Regions from separate parts of the Homo sapiens genome. Here region 2 is linked to region 1. The links are contacts of gene promoters, found by promoter capture Hi-C in human tissues and cell types (Jung and others, 2019). All regions are on one chromosome and are shown on one strand. The core of a region is centred on a gene start or on the middle of the fragment in contact, and the rest is flanking DNA. Distances in the headings are between cores, read along the strand shown.

What was found. The method cuts DNA at HindIII sites, captures the fragments that hold promoters and counts their contacts. A contact is called where the count stands out against the background at its distance.
Region 2: a fragment that was not itself captured here is called in contact with the fragment with the promoter of P2RY12 in region 1 in 1 of the 25 tissues and cell types used here (dorsolateral prefrontal cortex).

Annotation. Positions count from the first base shown.
Region 1 is chr3:151,382,654-151,389,218 of GRCh38, reverse strand. It overlaps P2RY12 (purinergic receptor P2Y12), which reads left to right and starts at 4,466. Exons shown (of 3, transcript NM_022788.5): 1 at 4,466-4,527. It overlaps MED12L (mediator complex subunit 12L), which reads right to left. Exons shown (of 45, transcript NM_001393769.1): 33 at 6,474-6,563; 34 at 5,331-5,440; 35 at 5,001-5,136; 36 at 4,028-4,189; 37 at 1,047-1,409. The HindIII fragment of the contact is 3,937 bases long and covers 2,872-6,565 here.
Region 2 is chr3:152,412,657-152,418,852 of GRCh38, reverse strand. It overlaps MBNL1 (muscleblind like splicing regulator 1), which reads right to left. Exons shown (of 10, transcript NM_021038.5): 3 at 3,742-3,912. Among named protein-coding and RNA genes, the nearest start is that of MBNL1-AS1, 150 kb to the right of the region's middle. The HindIII fragment of the contact is 3,755 bases long and covers 2,922-6,196 here.

The DNA.
Region 1 (6,565 bases), core at 3,217-5,716:
CACGTGGACTGACAGGCTGGAAACCCCAAATTTGAGGGAGTGTCAGTCTGGACCATTTTAAACTTCCCTTCAAGACAAAGGAATACTGGTAGGAAGACTGAATGAGAAGGGGGCACTGATGCTCAAGTGGCATCCTAAAGTGGTGGTGGTCATTTCTAAAATAGTATTAATCACCAAGCTATCAGCTAGGAAAAGATGTATTTTAGTTCTCACATAGGTAAACAATAACCAATCATGAATATCTGAATGAAATGGTGAATATTTCTTCCACTGTGCAGCAAGAATGCTGTGGAATTTCATTAAAAATGTCTCAAATCCTCTATCAAATATTTTCCAGGTTTTAATTTAATTTAAATAGAAAAACATTTTATGCATTACTTCTCAAGGTTTATAAAATTATTTCTAAATCACCATCAAATAGATTTCTGTTGTAATGAAAAGATTATTATACGTGGGGAACACTAATAGAGAAACAAGAAGTAAAACTATTTTAAATTAGGCTTATTTTCATCTTTTATAAAGTCTGAAAACATGGTAAAGAAGGAAAATATATGAGGGTAAGATGGAATAGTAAAACATAAAATCTCAGGAACATCCTATTGGCTATGCTAACTCCAAGTTTTATCAAAGAAAAACCAAATAGAGCTTTTTATGTTAATTTACTGAAGATATCAACCACTTAAAATACAATAAATATTTTAGACATATTAAAAATATGTGAGAGAATGGGATTGTATAGTTCTAAAAATTTCAAGTTTCAAACCCGAGGAAATTAGGAGGCACTGAAATATTAATTAAATATTACAATGGAAGCCTACAATTAAAATAAAATTATTAAAAGTGGAGGACGGAAAATCAAAAGCTTTAATCTTTTGTCTGTGACAAGTCATTGTGTGCCATTCAGTTAATGCAGAAACCTGTTAGGAGAACTGTCATAACAAAACTTATCCTGCTCTTGGTAATGTTTCGAGGGATATGATTTGGGCACGAGTAAATCTCATACTAAATGCTAATGAGCCAAGGTTCTCCTTCCTTTCCCCACTTACATCAACTCTTGAGCTAGATTTCGTCTTGCGCTTCCTTCCTTTTGTTTTCTTTTCTTCATCTGTTGTGGTTTTTCCCTGATCTGACAGCTCAGCGGACTTCCTTTCTGGTTCCTGAGAAACTGGAGATGTGGGCTCTTCCTCTTCCTCCTCAGGAGGCAGGGGCAGTGGCTGGAGGTAGTAACTGCGGGGCTTGGGCATGGGGTGTGTGTGATACAGCAGGAGGTGATGCTGCTCCTCGTACTTGATCACTCTTCGGTCCACTCGGACTGTCCCAAACCAGGCCCAGGACAAAGGAGCTGGGTTCTTCTGACCCTCAAACAAGTCCCACGGGGACACCTTCTGCTTCGTAGAGACCTGGAGACCCTGTGGGAAAATAGCGCTCTAAGATAGCACACTCAGATCTTTTCCTTATTCATAGGCCAGGCTTGTATGGGACATGGAGTCAGAGAACACTTTGGCTGGCATGAGCCCTAGAGAACCCGAGAATACAGCAGAGAGGGTTACACAGCTACATCACCGGAGAGCAGTGGCTAGAATTCAGACCTTTGTAAGCCCGGTTCTACAGTTCTTTAACCACATGATGCTCTGTTTAGGCAACAGAGGCAGTCTAGCATATTTTATTGTTAATGTGTATTTCCTCTTTTTGCTAAAAAAATTCTAAAAATTTGTTGCTAAAAATTCTAACACTGCAAAGTTAATCTTACTAAATTATAACCAGTTCTAAATCTCTGTAATCTATTTATAATTTTGAAGATAATATCAAATTTAAGAGTCAAGTTATAGTCAACCTGTAATTGGGTTAGTATTAACTTCAATCCAAATCTGCATGAACTTGGTTCAATATGTGGGCCCTGTACTTAATAAGCCATACTCTGAATATAATATTATTATTAGAGAATTAAATTGTAGCAGCAGGAATAAGTAAAGTCTTTCAACTCAAGCTTATATTTACTGACTCTAGAAAAAAAAAAACGGTTACCCTCTTTTTATTCTTAACATTAATTGGTGACATCTCTTGGCACTTGCCTTAAAATGTCAATTTAAAAATATTTTTCCTTAAATGGCCCCCAAATAACTACTCAGTCATTCCCTAAGATGTAAGTGTTACTGTTGTTATCTATATGCATTCTTTTATGAGTAGCTTCATCTAAAACTAAGGTTCAGGCCAGGCACAGTGGCTCGTGTCTGTAATCCCAACACTTGGTGAGGCTGAGGCGGGTGGGATCACCTGAGGTAAGGACTTTGAGACCAGCCTGGCCAACATGGTGAAACCCCGTCTCTACTAAGAATACAAAAAAAGGCTAGGTGTGGTGGCTCACACCTGTAATCTCAGCAATTTGGGAGGCTGAGGCAGGTGGATCACGAGGTCAGGAGTTCAAGACCAGCCTGGCCAAGATGGTGAAACTCCGTCTCCACTAAAAATACAAAAATTAGCCAGGCATGATGGCAGGCACCTGTAATCTCAGCTACTCAGGAGGCTGAGGCAGAGAATTGCTTGAACCCGGGAGGTGGAGGTTGCAGTGAGCCGAGATCACGCCACTGCACTCCAGCCTGGGTGACAGAGCAAGACTCTGTCTTGAAAAAAAAAAAAAAACAAAGACAAAAACAAAAAAAAATTAGCTGGGCCTGGTGGTGCATGTCTGTAATCCCAGGTACTCAGGAGGCTGAGACAGGAGAATCGTTTGAACCCGAGAGACAGAGGTTGCAGTGAGCAAAGATCGCACTACTGCACTCCAGCCTGGGCGACAGAGCGAGATTCCATCTCAAAAAATATAAATAAACAAAGTAAAACAAAATAAAACCAAGGTTCAATTGCCACCTGTAAATTGACTGTTTCCTAATATTTGTCTTGAGATGAGAACTTTTTCCTTGGTGTAAAAACCACACATCCAAATGGATTCCAGATGTCTTACTACCAGGAAGTCCGCTGACACTGCAAACTCAAACTTGACCATGACTTTAGCTTTTTTTCTTTACACAAACTGGTATTAGATTCTCAGGCTACTCTAAATTCCCTGGTAAATCTGATTCTTTCATGTCTTCATATAAACTCTCCCTTTATTTGTACCACAATTTTCCCTACCTCCCAGCTAACTCTTAATCCTTCAAAATGACTCGTGTCAATTTTCCTGGGGACCCTCTATTCTATCCCCTAATACTCTCTCTGTACCATGTCACACAAATCTCATTACACTGTAATTGTCTGTCTACTTCCCCCTTGAGGGTAGGAACTCTGTCTTTCATCTTGGTGATTGTGGAATGTCGGTGGTTGCTTACTGTTCATTAAAAGAGTAACTGACCAATTTTCTCATATTTTAGAGAACCATCTTTAATATCTTATATAAAACAAATGTCCATTAAATACTGCTTGATAGGAATAGAGAATATCCTAACAATTAAAATAATTTTTATTTGAAATAGCTTACTACAGGAAGGTTTTTTTTTTTTTTTCCCCCCCCAGAGACAGGGTCTCACTTTGTTGCCCAGGCTAGGGTGTAGTGGCTATTCACAGGCATGAGCCTAGCACATTGCAGCCTTAAACTCCTGGCTTCAAGCAATCCTCCTGCCTCAGCCTCCCAAGTAGCTGGAACTAAAGACATGTGCCACCATGCTCAGCTTACAAGAAATTTTTCATTGATAAATATATTCTGCTTCTAAATCTGAAGTATAATCAGAACTTATTTATGCAATTTTTTTTTTACACTAAGCTTTTACTTAGTTTTCTCTTGGTAGGTTTCCAAAAATTTACTTAAATTCAGGGAAACATTTTAAGTCCTTTAAACATATAAAACGTAGATCTTCAAAGATATGACCTCTTTATATGATAATGCCAATGACTAAGTACACTTAGAAGACAAGCATATGCCTTAAAAACATCAACAGCAAAATTAATATATTTTATATATCCTATGGTAAGACAAAAAAAAGTATTTCATCTTTTGTAAATAAATTTATATATAAGAAAAAACATTCACTCTTGCCTGTTTTTTATCTATAGAGTCAAATCCAGCAATTTTGTTTCCTTTTGTGTCAATCAAGGAACCCATAGGTTCACAAGTGATGACATCACATGTCTGTTTCGGCAAAGGTAGTAACTGTCGAACTTTGTCAATACTTTCTGATCGCTTGTCTCCTAGCTCTTTCTAAAGAAAAAAGAGAGAGAGAGAGAGTGAGAAGTGGGACAGAAATTACAATGAAGGCAAAAGTTAACCAGAAGGAAGTTCCCCTATGAAACATTTCCCTTTTTATAGCTTAGCGCATGTTCTTTAACCCTGAACATGTTCTACAAGGCAGTTCCAAATAGAGCAATGAGTGTTTCATTTCTTCTATTTAAGTAGAAAATAGAACACATACAAAGGCACTGTTGTTACACAACAAACATCATAGTGCTGAAATGACAAAAATCCAGGGTAGTGATCACAATCAGAAGACAGGAGCTGCAGAACAGAACACTTTCTCATGTCCAGGGTCAGATTACAAGGTAACCATTGATTTATTTGATTGGTAATGCATCAGATTTATTTGGTTTCTTTTTTGCACTGTTTTCTTACAATTTTTTTTTAAAGGAGTCTGTTAGTGGTCGGTCAAATGAATCGATTTATAAATTTCAATGCAGATGGCTATTTTTTCAATTACACGTGCCAGTCCAAGCATAGAGTTATCCTAAATCTATCTAATGTTAGTATTCTGGTTATATATTTAACAGTGGATTTCTAAAGTTCTTTAAAAAATTAAACATGTTTTATAATGTAATTGTTTTCAATAAAAAATAATCAAGGTTATGTGCATGTAACTTCTGGGTACTAATAAGGTTAGGTGAAACAAATAGCAAATAATCACATTAAATTAAGTTGAATACAATTAATAACATTTAATGAGTAATAAATTAAAATGCACTAGATAATAAATCCATAAACAACTTGAGCTCATAATACAGGCTGATCTCAAACTTACTTTCAGTTTCTTTACTAAATTCATGTATGCACGCTTGTTCTCTTCAGATCCCCCAGGGGATGCATTTGATAGGTCAGAGGCTAACGTTCCATTGATTAAAACACCCAGCATGTCAAGAACTGTTGTGAATAATTCACTAAGAAAGAAAATAATTATTTTCATCTTAAAGTGAAACTGAAATACACTTATTTAACTGAGTATTTTTATTCAAGGCACAGAATTTTTAATAGCATCCAAGTAAATAAGATGTGGCAGAAATCGCCATCAGTATATCAAAGCTTATACCATGCATACATGTAGCAAAATCAATGTGAAGTGATAAAAACATACTTGTTAGTGTGCATGTCAACAGTTCCTGAAGTAATGATCTGAAGGAGTAGCAGGGCCCAGTCTGTAGTCCACTGGGTGCTCCTCTGCACCGTGTCAAACATTCCTCCTACCTAGCAGACAAAATACAGTAAGATATTTGCATTCTGTAAAACAGAAAGAACACCCCATTGCTTTATGTTATCAAATTTTGATTGTTTTTTATTTAAAAAAACAAGGGATGCTCTAGTTTATAGATTACCTTATCTTTTCTCTTTTACCTACATGTTTATCACTATTTTTAGTTCTTTCAGCACAGTTCAGTCATTCAAACATTAACTAAAATGAAGAAGGGACGTGAGTATCTGAATGTGGGCACCAATAAACTTAGCTTTCTTTTGTTCCAAATCTTTTATGATGTCCAGTTTTATGATGCAATTATAGTTGAATTAAACCTGAATAATGTCAAAGTCATGTAATCCAATTATCTGCATCTTTGTGTTTGCTGTACAATTACTATTGAATCTAAGCCTGCTATCATAATACCATATGGAAACATCCACTATCACAGCAGTGGTGGGCAGGAGGCTTGGCCCGCACACCTACCAGTTCACGTGTTGGGACAAGGTTAGAAACAACTGCAAAAGTATCAGGCAGGCCATCCTCCAGAGGGGCCTGCACTTGGGCCTGCCTGATGGGAAAAGAAAACTCAAGGAATGCACAATATGTGAGACATTTTAAATTTCTATAAAACTTCTCTGTGGGATTTGTCTTTATAATCAATTTGATGGAAAGTTGGACAAAACTTTGAGTTAAAAGACTTTTTAAATGGTTTTAAGTAAGTATAGTAGAAGCTAACACTTATAACAGTCTTCTCAGATTTATTCTTAGCACAAACTGAAGAGAAGGAGAGATTCACTGGGGTAGAGGTAGAGAAGGCAAATCTATGCTTAAAATACCTAGCACTGTCTAGATGTCTGACCAGACAGGAAGGAAAGCAGCAAGGGAAACAGAAGGCTTTAGAAACAGGGAAGTAATTACAGAGAGCAAAGAGTGGAAGGCCTCACCTTGTAATGCAGACTTTGCACTTAGGAGAAGTGGAAAGCTGGAGGTATTTTCACATGTAAATATGTTTAATGGAGGGAAAATACTAGAAATGTCACTTACCAAATTTAGGCGGAGTTGCAATGCTTCGTGCATCATCTGCCGCGCTTTTATGTCATCTTGGTATCGTTCTTCTCTCCAGTTACTTAAAATCT
Region 2 (6,196 bases), core at 3,550-6,049, 1.0 Mb before region 1:
CCCAGGTACTCAGGAGGCTGAGGCAAGAGAACGGTGTGAACTTGGGAGGCGGAGCTTGCAGTGAGCTGAGATCACACCACTGCACTCCAGCCTGGGCAACAGAGTGAGATTCTGTCTCAAAAAAAAAAAAAAAAAAAAGATTGTTAAGACCTTGTAGGTAATATATTCCAAACTTTTCACCATTTGTTGAGGAAGGTCAGAGATCTCTCTCTCTCTCTCTCTTTTTTTTTTTTTTTTTAGAGACAGGGTCTTATTCTGACACCCACATTGGAGTGCAGTGGTTTGATCAAAACTCACTGCAGCCTCAACCTCCTGGGCTCAAGTGATTCTCCTGCCTTAGCTTCCTAAGTTGGTGTCTTGCTATGTTGCCCAGGTTGGTCTTGAACTCCTGGCCTCAAGTGACCCTCCTGCCTCAGCCTCCCAAAGTGCTGGGATTACAGGTGTAAGCCAGCACACCCAGCTAGGTTAGAGATCTTAATGAATCAACCAAGGACCCTGAGTTGGCCAGTGGTGTGTCTCCAATTAGGTGCTTCCACATCATGAGTGCCAAAAGCAGAACAAGGTGGTTAAAATCCTAGCCTTGCTACTCACTAGCTGTGTAACCTGAGCAAACTTCTTAACCCTTCTGAACTTCTCAGTCTATCTCTAAATTTAGGGTAACATTACTACTTTAAAGGATGGTTTGTGAGGATTTAATATACAAAAAGTGCCAAGTGCAGTAAATGCCCCTAATGTATTGTATTTGTCTCAAAAATTTTAAGTCCGGTTTCTGATTCTTGGCTTGGTACATTTCAATAGAAGCTCACAAAGTGTATAAAAATGGGAAACCTTCCTACAGATCCCTGCATTCCCCAAGTTAGCCCAGTGTTGTGCTCTGAAGATATTAAATGTATAGACCTCGTCACTCACAATTTATGAGAAAATGAGAACCCAAACTTGGTTGCATAATAACCCAAGCTTAGTGGCATATTTCTTGTAGCCATCAAGCCTCTAGCTGCCTTTGCTAATAATCTGCTGATATGTGTCCACTTCTATGCCCCATTCTATGTTGCAGCCTCTGTAACTGGGCTTGTGTTCTGGGTGCTGGTTATGATTCCTTTGAACTATGGAGCAGGTAAACTACTATGAATCTCTGCCTGTTTTTCTGGTGTTTCGGAAACTCCTTCCTTCATTTGTTCTTTCACTCATCAAGTAATTATTGATCTCTGCTATATGCCAGGCATAATACTAGATGCTTCCAAGTTTGCTTAGACCTTGCTGTCTCCCTCTCTCCTTCCTGCTCCTCCAAGGTTTGGGAGCTAAACTGGCCCTAGAGAAGTTAGATGCTGTCACCTACTTGACTAAAAGTCTTGTCACTGCTCAGATACTCTGAATACTGCTGATGGTATGGAACTGCTCATAGTATTTATCTTCTTTGATATGACTACTACCTGGGTTGGATCCAAGTTAATGCCATGTCTTCAAACACTCATCTGTAAGTAGTGGCCATTCTCTCTGAGTGGCAACCCTTTTCCACATTAGTCACCTGGCTTCCTCTAGTCCTGTTACAATCCCTATTTGTAAGGCCCACATTAAACTCCCAGTAAGCAGCTGATTATGACCATTCCATTCATTTCTGAATCTCCATGTCATTACCCTCATCAAAACAGGGCTGACTACAAAAAGGATAAAAAAGTCTCAGGTGAGGTTTTGAAGGCAAATTTCCTGTACTAAAGCTTTCTCTACAGTCATTAAAGTCCCAAATGCCTTAAAATTGAATAATTAAAATGATTTCTGTACTTATTACAAAGTCATCACTCTGAATAAAGTATATTTTTAGACAATGATCTCAGGATACCTTTAGCAGAAGGGTAATTCCACATTCAAATCTAGTCATATGAGGAAAAATTAACATAAAGCCTGAATATGCTCACAACTAATAAAAATAATTTCTTTGTCTAAGCAGAGAATTTTCTAACAAAAGCATCAGAAAATGTGATGATTGTTCTCATGGTTTCAGAAATCTGTGATTTAGTGATTTCACGAACAATATATTTGTTACTAGTATTTCAAAGGGCATAAATATTGTTTACAGTTTGTCCCAGGATTGCACACACGACATCCTAGAATGGCCTTCAGAGTAAGACTCAAGGGCTAGGTCAGGAAATGTGGTGGCCAGTGTTCTCTTCCATCTGGGAACACACTTGCTGATCTCAAAGGTGCTCCCAGTCACAGAGAGGGTACAGCCTGGTGGTAAGCATGCTTTAAATGTTTAAGTAGAACAAAGTATCTTCACATCAAGGATAGGCCTTAGAGGAGCTAAGGTGGTAGCCACCCTAAAGACTTGTCTGATCTTTGAAACTGTATGTGAGAGCCAAGTGCAAATGAGACTTTTGTCCTACATGTTCTGTTAGAGAATTATTATAGCTAATTTTTTTAACCAAATGGAAATCTTCATGCTATCCTAATACAGCCATGTGAAATTAGTAGATGTCACAAAAATAACTTTAAGCTATCACATTTTTAACTGAGCCTACAATCATAGGGGAAAAAACCAGATCAGGTTAAAACAGACACATAATTAATTATATTCTCTCACTTCAACTGTATAGAACTGATAACTGGTATCACTGCCCATGTAATGTGGAGATCCTCCCACCTTGAAATGCAATCCCCCACTCTTTTTTGAAATGATTGTTGCATAAAGTTCTAAAAGAGAATAATAATTACATTGAGTTCAGGTTTTAGAATGTATTCGGAAAAAAAACAGCACACATGCTACAGTTAGCATAGCAGAAAAACATGGGTCTTCACATTCCCATGACCCCACGATACTGCATATAAGCTAGTGACATAAATTACTGACAGATATATTCTGATAATTGCAAATTTCAACATGCATTTGAATTTAAATGTAGAATTACTATATCACAATTAACGTCAAAGCACCTTTTTCAACCTAACACTAATTCTTATAATAATCTTTCACATTTTGATGAATAAATATGAATAGAGATTATTAAAGTCATTTATTACACACATACTCCAGAAATCCAAACAGTTAAATAGAAATGTGTGTTTCAAAGCAAGAGTCACCCACATATACTGCTCAGCAAATACTAAATATCTATGACCACCCAGTTTTTCAACTTTAGCTCTTTAAGCCCTCAGAGTTTCAGCCTACCCTGATTAATTCTTCTTTAATGAGACCTCCAAGTCTATGATATTGATTTACTACTGTCAGAATTTTCCTAGCATTTGTAGCTATGAAATAATTTCAACTTAAATTATAGAAGAACAAGAAAGGTACCTTTTCAAGAAAAAGAACTATACACATTCTTTTCAAGGAGGGAGGAAAGGGAGAACTATTCTCAAAATTAAAGACTATACATACCAATTTTAAATATCATTATTACCTCTGAAGGTGGCTGAAAATGTATATTGACTATACCGGTGAGTTAGATGATCATTGTAACACAGAGCATTTTAACATCTGCCAGTCTTGGGATTTATTTTGAAGAAAAATTTAGAGGAAAAAAAATGCTATAATGTAAATGTCCACATGATTTAGCCAGAAAATGAGTGCCTACACAAAGTATAAATTGTTCCAGCATTTGACTGATACTTAATTTTGCTAGAAAATGGTAAGGCAACTGAAATTGTTGCCTGTGTTCATTTGATCCGGTGCAATAATCACTTTAGTACTACAACTGAGCACTTTGAATCAAAAACTTAATGAGTGAAGACTGAAAACATGCTTACCACGGGTTGTAATGGGGCACCAGGCATCATGGCATTGGCTAGTTGCATTTGCTGGGCCAACATGGCCATGTTCTTCTGCTGAATCAAGTTATTGCGTCCATTTATCTCCAACTGCGTTTTTAAATGTGGGGGTGGATGAAGATATTTGCAGTTCTCCCTGGAGCAACGGCCCTAGAGAAACAAAAGCAGCAAACATCATCTTAGAAAAGAATAAAATCAGCAAATTATGAAAAAAATATAATGCAAACCACCCACTTGAATGTATCATTGGTTTTTCACACAATGCATTGTCCATATCATTTGATCATACATTTAGAACAAGTAATGAATTCACCAGAATGTACTATCAATATGAGAGGTTGAGACATTTAAAGAAGTTTAAAAGCTTAAAGAGTTTCAATTATTTTAATAATATTAGCATTAACATTTCCAGATTCAAGTTTAAAAATCTACAAACTGCTAGGGTAATACTAAAACATAGAATATCAAACAAAGAATATCAGGCTTCTGTCATAATATCTTCCTGGTTAAATTTAATGATTTAAGAATCCAAGTTTTATATTTTATTTTTACTTGTACTGAAATCTTAGGAAATGAACTTAGAGGACTCAAGGCACATTGTATCTTCAGTAAAACACCTTTATAAGTATCTAATAACAAATAAAATTAAAATTACTACTAGGCTTTACCAGTCCATGTATTAGGAATTTACAATTGAAAAGAAGAAAACTCCCATGTGTTCCCACTGTATATAGAGATTAATAAGTATAATGAAATACTGGTGAAAAATGTGGCCTTTAACTTTTCAAAGATAAATCTAGTCTTCTCCATTTTACAAAATCTATGAAACAATAAGAAATGGATATATTTACCCTCCAAAAAATTTAAAAAATGGAGAAACTAAGTTGCTATAAGCCAGGAATGGCGGTGCACTACCTCTGTACTCTGTCCTAAGCACTTCATTCTAGTACCTTCCTTGAATATATACCATCCAGACCATCCTACCAACGAACATAGCCTGGACTGAAATAATGGAGATAAATCATACATGTTTAGTAATCTTAGCACTTTGGGAGGCTGAGGCAAGAGATCTCCTGAGCACACGAGTTTGAGACCAGCCTGGGCAACATAGTGAGAGCTCATCTCAAAAAAAAGAAGTTACTATAAAATCATAAGTACAAATATACCTTCCTTTTGGATAATTCTTTTTAATAAAATATTCATTAAAGCCTATAATATGTAATATGGTGTGAGGCACTCTACCCATATTATTTCAACATATTTTCAAATCATATCAATAGTAGCAGATCTCATCAACCACCTTGACAACTTCTTTCACCAATAAATCTAATTAAAACTGTTTACAAGCAGTAGAATAAAAGAAAGATTAATTGAAGCCATCATTCACATTCTAAAAACACCAATTTAGTATAATTGAACTTTATGCTATAAATTGACTCTGATGCTTATACTTATGATAAAATCTGTCATAATTCTAATTTAAATGATCGGTTTTGGCTCCTTTTGTATGAGGTTTTTAGGAATGTCTCTACACTAGGCTAGAATCATAGGATACTGCTTGTTATTTTTACAAGCTTCATGTAATACTTGAAATCAGTAGGCAGCAGGGGACAGTGGATAGCAGAGACCTTACAGGTCTCATGAGCTGGGACAGAGGCCTAGCTCTCTTACTCATCAAATGCATGAACTGCATAAGGAGCTAACTTCTGTAAGCCTCAGGCTCTCTATCTAGTACTGAATTATTAGAAAACGTGTATCACTGCCACCACAATTTAATTTGTGTATCAAACAAAAGAAAAACAAAACATTGGTATGAAGATGATTTTTTAAACATCTTTTAGTTATGGCTATTGGTATGCTCACGAAGTAACATATATATTAAACTTATTCCATATAAAATCACCATGCTTGATGTAGGTTGGGATCATGAGCATGTTATTAGCTTAAAAGTGTCTTGATACAAAACAACCAAAAACAACCTTAGACTCGCAAGATAAACCACAGAGTAGGACTGGCAAAAATAAATAAATTCCTGGATAGCATATGGTCTAATTTCAGGGATATTTAGTTGAAGTCTCCTAGAAAAAGCCTGCTTTTTCAATACAAAGAATAATTTGGCTGCAACAGAAATTCTTGTTCTCAGTATCTCCGCATCATAGTTCTTACTAAAACTGGATTTCTTTAAATGCAGGTGAGAGGGGTTATGGTCACCACGAGAATTCACTTCCCATCAATTCACTCACATCGGTTTCTATAGTTCTGTAAATAGTAGATAGATAGCCCTGGGCCATGAACCAGACCTTCCAACACTAACTGTGGTCTTCCTAAGCACTTCATTCCAGTACCTTCCTTGAATACACACCACCCAGACCATCCTGCCAATGAACATAGCCTGGACTGAAATAACAGAGAGAAATCACGTGTGTTTGGTATA